Linked DNA regions of Homo sapiens: regions 1 and 2 are each linked to region 3. Evidence: promoter capture Hi-C in 16 types of primary human blood cells and fetal thymus (Javierre and others, 2016). All regions are on one chromosome and are shown on one strand. The core of a region is centred on a gene start or on the middle of the fragment in contact, and the rest is flanking DNA. Distances in the headings are between cores, read along the strand shown. Region 1 overlaps RCOR1 (REST corepressor 1). Region 2 overlaps RCOR1 (REST corepressor 1). Region 3 holds the start of CDC42BPB (CDC42 binding protein kinase beta).

Region 1 (2,835 bases), core at 94-2,593, 350 kb after region 3:
GAAAATTTTGTACTAATTTTACCAAATATAAATAATAAACTGATTTAATATAAAATTAGTATGTTTTCAGGCTGCTGAGATAAAAACATCTTTGTAATTCAAACAGAATACCAACTCCATAGTTCTTTCAGTCTAAGTGATGAGAAACTACTAAAATAGATTCCTAACTTCCCAATCCAGATCTAAAACACTATTGCTCTATATCTGTAAACTGAAAATATCAAAATGAAAATGCATTTACATGTTATTTTCTCATAATTATCTATTGAGGACTAGGATATGATTACTAAACAAAACTGAGAAATTATGGGAGAATAAATTTCCACTGCATTGGGAATAAACCTGCTAACAGTAAAAAAATCCTTTTCCAAGTACCGTCTTTCTACCCAAGGCCACACAAAGTCTGAGGCTTTTCTGGTGTCCTGGACAACTGATGTTTTAAAATTATGTTTAATTTTAAAAAGAAAACTTACATTGGTATAGCACTTTAAATGCTTTTTGTAATATCCTGAATGTAGTATTTCATTTAATTTAAAACAAAGAAACAAGAAAAGCCCCGATGTAGGTAGGAATGCAACTGTAAAAAAAGAAAACTAAGTCTACAGAAGTCAAGTAGCCTGCCCCAGTTTGCCCACCTCGCACTGCCTCTGGAATCCATCCCACGGGACCATGCCCACTACGCGCCACCTCCTCCCCATCCTCCACCAAGGTAGCAGGAAGCTCTAGCTGAGGAAAGAGTGTCCACAACAAGAAAGAGCCTTCGGCTAAGGGAATTTTGTCCCAGTCCCTGCCATGACTTTCACAGGCAAGTCCTGTTAGAAAGCCAACAATTTATCAGGTGCTGCTGCAGCACCTCCATCCCCGCATCCCAAAAGTGGTTGAGGTGCACATGGGAGGTGGAGGCAAAGCACTTCCTGGCCCCATCGGGACTAATGCAAAAAAAAAGCCTCCAGGGAGTAAGAATGGAAGTGTTGGCAGGTATTCTTATTTCACACTCAAGGATATCCAATCCCACTCTGTATTATTTAATTTTGATTGCTGCTTAGTAAACTGCATCTGCTTATAGTAACAGACTTACTATATAGACAGTAAACTAGGGAAATGAAAAAGCTTCATTAAAAGTTAATAAGAGTACTCATCCATAAATAAACCTACTAGTATATAAGTCAGAGGCAAAAATATGCAGATGTATCATGGTCGATAATTTTATAGGCTCTTACAATTAAAAGAGCTTTGGAGATGTTCTTAACATCACTCTCAATTTATACTTGGGCCAAGAGGTTTGAATTCTCCAAAAGTGATACTCAACTTTCAATGTGTTCTCACATGTTACTCTTTCATTTGAAATGATAAAATTCCATCCTGAGATGGGACACCGGGGACCATATATTTCATCCTCCTTCATTTTATTTTTTTATTATTAATTGATAAAAATATTACAGGAAATGTGGAAAATAGGATTTTTTAAAACCCACCTATATATCTCACCACCCTAACAAGGAAACCACTAGGTCTGCATGCTGCCTTCTGGACTTCAAACATCTTCATTTTAGAGTTAAGGAAAACAGAAGCTTGGGGAAGACGCATGTTGAAGTCACCTGCCTGTGAGTATGTACAATTTTACACATTTTAAAAAATAAATTAAAGACCTTAAACATCCCAGTGTAGCCTGTGGCATGTAAGTGGAATCTTCAGAGCTGAGACCAGAGCCCATTTCTGAGTGTGAGTACCTGGCCATTTCTACTTCTCTATGCTACATATAAGACTGAGGAAGTGATGGTTAAGAAGTATTCTCCATACTGAGCTATCCTTAAAACTAATATCCTTACTAAGAGATTATAAAATGTTTCTCTTTCTCATTCACACACAAAAAACAGATGGTCAAAAAAAGAAGCAGCAACTCTAAGTTGTATTTTTGTTTCCACATGGCAAACATAAAAACACACCAAATGAATCTTGTAAAAATATACCACGTTAAACCTCAAACTACAAAATAAAAGATTCTTTTTTATTAAAAGGAGCCACCCCTTCTAAATGGGAAGGAAAAAAAATGGGTCAAAGTTAACTGACTCAAAATGGAAGTTCACTGACTGCAGGGAAAGAGTGGTGAGAAAAAATACCTGAATAATGTGACACGCTCTAATACATCTCATGAACATGTGGTTCCACCAGGAAGGCGCGGAGGGAAAACCAGTCATTCTGCCTTGCCTTTGTGTATCTGGGGCTCTTAGATAGTCCCCTAAGTGGTTAGACAACACCCCAGCCATGTGCTCACCTCTCCTCCCGCTCCCGTTTTTGTTTCCGGGCATGGCGATCCATCACACTAGTTTTAGTCCTCGTCTTCTTCCAAGAATAGTAAAATTTCACCAGACTTGCTATAGATTTATCTGGAAGCTAAACATAAAAAATGAGTTGGTTTATTTAAATAAAAAAGTAATCTTTAAAAATCAAATGTTTAAGGCCGGGCGCAGCGGCTCACGCCTGTAATCCCAGCACTTTGGGTGGCTAAGGCAGGCGGATCACGAGGTCAGGAGATGGAGACCATCCTGGCTAATATGGTGAAACCCCGTCTCTACTAAAGATACAAAAAATTAGGCCGGATGTGGTGACTCACGCCTGTAATCCCAGCACTTTGGGAGGCCGAGGCGGGTGGATCACGAGGTCAAGAGATCGAGACCATCCTGGCCAACATGGTGAAATCCTGTCTTTACTAAAAATACAAAAAATTAGCCGGGCGTGGTAGCGGGCGCCTATAGTCCCAGCTACTCGGGAGGCTGAGACAGGAGAATGGCGTGAACCCGGGAGGCGGAGCTTTCAGTGAGCCGAGATCGCGCC
Region 2 (2,768 bases), core at 115-2,614, 370 kb after region 3:
AAATAGCATTTATTTTTATAATTACAACATAACTTTATAAGCTTTCAGTAACCCTAAGAGGCAGAACTCTGAACAGCCACTTTGAAAAGAAGAGGAAAAAAAAAACACACACACACACACAAGAAAAGCCAGGGATCTCCAGACATCCTATACACAGTTTTTTAGTATCTGCTAGAAATATGTCCTAAATCACTTATTTCTACTTAATGTCAGAATAAATGCTGGACAACCAAGACTTCCATATTCTTCCAAAACTGAGACACCTAAATTTTCAATAGAGTAATTGTTAAACATACTGACATATCCATGTAATAAAGTATTACACCTAGTTATTTAAAACCTTTATAAGCAGTTTTAACAACGTGGAAACTGCTTAGGTCCGATGCTCAGGAAGACAATACACACATACACACACACAGATAATCTATCATCTCACTTATATAAATACATACAAAAAAAATTGGAAGAAATACCCCAAAATGTTTAACGATTATCACCTCTGGGTGATGGAATAATAGGTGAATTTTTTTTATTCTTTATACTTTTATCTATGAACTTTCAACAATATGTAAATATTACTTTTAGGTAAGTGTTTGTTTTGTTTTTTTCCCAGAGTAGAAATCATTGCTCTTTCCTGATAGAAAATAATGCATTTCTACAAAGCCGTCCTCATCCTGCCTTCTCGCTAGTGGACTTTGTTCACTCTCAGTGCTCCGTGTTTACTCGGTTAATAAATGGAAAGACAGATGTATTCTATAAAGTCAATCCTTTTTTATGCCATCTAAGGAAAACCCCTAGGTCTCATGCACCCCAAGGCCCTTCCACCCTAACAACTCGATTTCCCTGAAAGGTATGTCTGGAAGCCCTTCCGTGACAAAGTAAATAAATCTTGATATTTCTCTTCAATTTTCATAACGTGAACACTACCGATGAGCCCTTGCTTAGTTCATCTGTCTTCCACTGCCTGACACTGACAGGTCATTTCCACGGGTTTGCTATGCAGCCGCTTGAGGTTCAGACTCCGCAGCGGGTTGGGGGCAGGGGTGCTGGGGCCTCCCGTGCGAGTTGGATTCTGGAGGAAGACAAGGAACCTGTTCCTAGCGCTCAGCCGGGTCCTGCGATGGCTGTGGCTGTGACTATGGCCAGGAAAGAGGCAGAGAGGCGGGATACGGTCAGAGCTGCGGGGGCTGGGGCGGAGAGGGCTGCTCCCAGGTCACGGCGCACCCAGGCGCCTCCCCCAGCTGCCAGCCCCACCTCGGCTGCTGCTCCACAGCAGGAGGGTGCAGCCCCAGCCCCCGCAGAGCTAGGGACTGGTGTATGGGGAGCAGGCCGGGTGCCCCGGGATGAACTTGAGGCCCAGCACTGCCAGCTTCCAGCTGTGGGAAGGGCTGGTGGCAAGAGGGACCCGGAAGCAGCACTGGGCCCGAGGGCGGAGATCAAGGGACATCTCCCTAAGCGTGGCCGAGCGCACTGGCTGCCATCTCCAGGTCAGCGGGGGCCACATTCGCGCACGGAACATCAGCGCGCCCCCAGAGGAGAGCTTGGCCCAAAGCATCCTCCGATTCCCAAGAGAAGTTGCCCACATTGCTTGGGACCCCCGGGGAAGCCCCGCTGGTGGAACAGTAGGGGTCAGCACCCCAGGCTGACCAGGGTCTGGGATCGGGGGGACCTGCGCCCAGGTGGCCTCCACGCTGGCGCTGCTCTGGCTTCTTTTCCGTGCTCCACCTCTCCAATTCTGAAACCAAACCTGGACTCGTGGCTCGGGAGTCTGTTTTTCTGGCCGGTTCTTTTCTGACAGTAATTCCAGGACAAGGGTCCGTTTCAAAGGCCTCAGTAAGAATCGTGTATTGATATCTGTCAAATTTGGTCCTCCTATGCCTCTGGCCTGGCTCAAGTGTGTCTCAGCCACAAGCCGAGCTCGCTGTCCACTGGGAGCCTCAGTGGACAGGTTAGTTTTTTTAAAGTTTAAAGTTTTAACCAACTTTAAACTTAAAACGATTGTAATCAGGGCTTACAATAAAACTGTAAATTTATTTTATAGGCAACACCACTGTTTAAAAATCAATTAACTTTACATATTCTGCCCTTTTCTTCTAGGTCTATGAAAAATAAGATAACATTAAAATTAAATTCTGACTCCAAAGACTCCAATAAGCAATACAATAGGAAAAGTGACTAATACAACTTTAAACTGTAATAACAGAAAGATAGTGGCTAACAGGCTAAATGAACACAGCCTGAGAAATAAGTGAGATTATGACCCAGGAGTGAACTACTTGGGGTTCCGCCACTCACTATCTGTGCTACTTTTACAACCCTCTGACTCTTTGAACTATGGGATGCCATCTGTAAAACAGAGAAAAAATCTTCCTCCTGGGTTACTGTGAACACTGAATGATACAGGAGTATGAAAAACATTTTAGTACTGTGCTGGCATAAAGGTTCAAAAAATGCTCAGTATTCTTCATATTCAGTTCTGAGTACAATTTAAGATGGACATTGTGGCCAACTGGAACACACTTAGAAGGACAACAGGAGATGAAAAGAGATCCCCAAAAAAACCATCTGAAAAGGCACCTGAAGCAACTAGCTTGGACTCAGACAGTAAAGGAGATACGATGACTGAACATTTAAAGGACACATATGGAAGCAAACTTATTTAGCAAAGTTCAGGAAAACAAAGCTTTTACAAATTACAGGGAGGCAGATTTTTAGTGCTCTGTAAGAAAGAACATGTTCAAAAATGGAACAGATCACAGGGCGCAGTG
Region 3 (2,700 bases), core at 177-2,676:
TCGTGCTCTGTTGCCCATGCTGGAGTGCAGTGGAGCGATCTTGGCTCACTGCACTTTCGCCTCCCGGGTTCAAGTAATTCTCCTGCCTTAGCCTCTCGAGTAGCTGGGACTACAGGCGCGCGCCACCACGCCCGGCTAGTTTTTTGTATTTTAGTAGAGACGGGGTTTCACCGTGTTGCCCAGGCTGGTCTCGAAGTCCTGAGCTCAGGCAATCCGCCCACCTCGGCCTCCTAAAGTGCTGGGATTACAGGTGTGAGCCACCGCGCCAGGCCCACTCCTATTTTTAGCTCCAGAGATTAGTTTTGCTTCAGGCTCCCTTAACGTCCTGCTTCAAACCCCTATCTGCCCCTTCATCGGCTCCACCTGGAGGCCACCGCTTCCACGGAAGCATGACCCCTTCCCCTGCACCCGCGCGCCCCAGAAGCTCTCAGATACCCCCACGATTTCGGTGACCTTCCGCAAGCTCCAGGAAAAGCCCCTCCTCTCCTGACGCCAAGGGTTTGTTGGGGTTGGGGGGTATCTCCATCAGCCTCCCTCCCCCAGCCACCCAAATTAACCAACAATCTTAGTAAATGCAGCGACTCGCTAGGCAAACCCAGCCTGGAGACAAATATCCGGCCCCTTTCCTACCAAACTGTCACACCTAGGCATTGGTCTGCAGGGAGGGCTGGACAGTGGAAACTGAAACCCTCTGCAAGCCATCACGAATCCACCGGGCACTGGGGACGCTGGCTCCCGCCTTGGCAGCATCCCCCAGAAGCCTGGGCCCTGACCCCACACCGTCTGGGCCTCAGTCTCTCATCGGTAAAGTCAGGGGTAGGGCCCGAGTCTTCCAGGACCGCTTCGAGCTGGGACAAGCCGTTTTAAATAGCCCACAACCCGCCGAGGCCATCAGAGCTGCGCCTGCCGGGCCGCCCTCGACCCCCACCTCGGCCGGGCAGGTCCGAGGCCCCGCAGGCAACATGGGCCCGCGGACTGCGGGACGGGGCTCGACGGCCTGAGATCGCGACTCTGCCTCTCCGATACTTGGGGTCGTCTTCGGCCCCGGGATCCGCGACGCGCGCGGTCGGACCCCGAATACTGAAGGCACCGGGTCCGCAGGGCGAAGGCGCACACGCCCACCAGGCGCGCTCTGCGCATGCGCGGGCTCCGCAATCTCAGCGGCCCACTCGCCCCGCCCCGCCCCCCCCACCCCCACCCCGCGCCGCTCCCCAGGCCCGGCCCTGCCTTCCCAGCATCCCGGCTCCCTACGGCAAGCGGCGAGGCCCGAGCCCGCCGGGAGCAGGGAGCCGGGCGCGGGGCGGGGCGGCGCGCTGAGGTCAGCGCGGCGGCGGCCGGCCCCGTAGTGGTTGGCTGCGCTGGTGCTGGCCGCGCCCTGGTTGGCTGCGGGCCGCGGGGCTGGGCCGCCGGGTCGGGGCTGGGGTCGGGCTCGGGCGCCGGCCGGGCTTGCGCAGCGCTAGGCTCCTCGCCGCTCCTAGTCTGCGGCGGCGGCGGCGGGGAGGGCGCGGCCGCGGGCGGGGCTGAGGGCGGCGGGGGCGGGCCGCCCGAGCTGGGAGGGCGGCGGCGCCGAGGGGAGGAGAGCGGCCCATGGACCCGCGGGGCCCGGCGCCCCAGACTCTGCGCCGTCGGGACGGAGCCCAAGATGTCGGCCTAGGCCGGGGCGCGACGACGCGGACGGGGCGGCGAGGAGGCGCCGCTGCTGCCGGGGCTCGCAGCCGCCGAGCCCCCGAGGGCGCGCCCTGACGGACTGGCCGAGCCGGCGGTGAGAGGCCGGCGCGTCGGGAGCGGGCCGCGCGGCACCATGTCGGCCAAGGTGCGGCTCAAGAAGCTGGAGCAGCTGCTCCTGGACGGGCCCTGGCGCAACGAGAGCGCCCTGAGCGTGGAAACGCTGCTCGACGTGCTCGTCTGCCTGTACACCGAGTGCAGCCACTCGGCCCTGCGCCGCGACAAGTACGTGGCCGAGTTCCTCGAGTGGGGTAAGTGCGCGCCGGCAGGGCCGGACCTGCGGCTCTGCGACCCCCGCGCCCCAGCCCGCGCATCCCCACGCCCGCCCATCCCCGCCCGGACAGACCCTGCCGCCCTCCTGCCCACCCAGCTCGTGGGCTTCGCCTCCTCTCGCTCTGGCAGCGCCCCCAGGCCCGCAGCCCATCTCTCTCCAGCCGCTCCTTGCACCCTCGTCCCTCCGCTAGCTTTTCATCCCTCCTTGCCCTCCCTAGGCTCGACATCCGCGTTCGATCGTCCCGCCCCCTCATCCTGCCCCTTGGAGCCACATCCTACGTTCCCACTCCCACCCCCTCCCCCCCGCCGGGCCCTCGCCCTGGCGGCTTCCTAGATCCACCCTCCGAGTCTGGATATCATTTCCTGCAGCACTCACTGGGATATCCGCCCCCGCCCCCGCCCCCGCCCCCGCACCTCGCCTTTGGGGTCCGGAGGCAGTGTGGAATTAGTTCCCTTTCCCCACCCCACGCTTCTCTGCGTTGTGGGGGCAGCTGGGTGTGCTTTCTGCATCTGCCTCGCCCACTGCCCCGTGGGACCCCCTTGCATCCCCAGGGAGCCCAGCTCTAACGGCCCCTCCTGGGTGACAGCCTGTCTACATCCCCTTGTTGGTCAGAGCCTGAATACCTACTTTGCTGTAACACCTTCAAGGGAATTTTAAGGTTAAGGCTTTATTTTAAATAAACCGTGCAAGAGGACTTTTTT

What was found. Contacts are between HindIII fragments. The CHiCAGO score rates a contact against its expected background, and 5 or more counts as called.
Region 1: a fragment that was not itself captured here is called in contact with the fragment with the promoter of CDC42BPB in region 3 in 2 of 17 cell types (naive B cells and total B cells); the score reaches 5.9 in naive B cells.
Region 2: a contact is called between a fragment that was not itself captured here and the fragment with the promoter of CDC42BPB in region 3, in 1 of 17 cell types (total B cells). The highest score is 5.8, in total B cells.

Annotation. Positions count from the first base shown.
Region 1 is chr14:102,708,024-102,710,858 of GRCh38, reverse strand. RCOR1 (REST corepressor 1) reads right to left here. Exons shown (of 12, transcript NM_015156.4): 6 at 2,276-2,394. Among named protein-coding and RNA genes, the nearest start is that of TRAF3, 68 kb to the left of the region's middle. RefSeq lists an enhancer at 1,959-2,835. The HindIII fragment of the contact is 461 bases long and covers 1,113-1,573 here.
Region 2 is chr14:102,682,416-102,685,183 of GRCh38, reverse strand. The region is part of intron 3 of RCOR1 (REST corepressor 1); the gene reads right to left. Among named protein-coding and RNA genes, the nearest start is that of RCOR1, 91 kb to the right of the region's middle. The HindIII fragment of the contact is 2,642 bases long and covers 44-2,685 here.
Region 3 is chr14:103,056,275-103,058,974 of GRCh38, reverse strand. CDC42BPB (CDC42 binding protein kinase beta) reads left to right here and starts at 1,426. Exons shown (of 37, transcript NM_006035.4): 1 at 1,426-1,976. The coding sequence starts at 1,802. RefSeq lists an enhancer at 289-939 and silencers at 935-1,044, 1,085-1,584, 1,675-1,754. The HindIII fragment of the contact is 17,633 bases long and covers 1-2,700 here.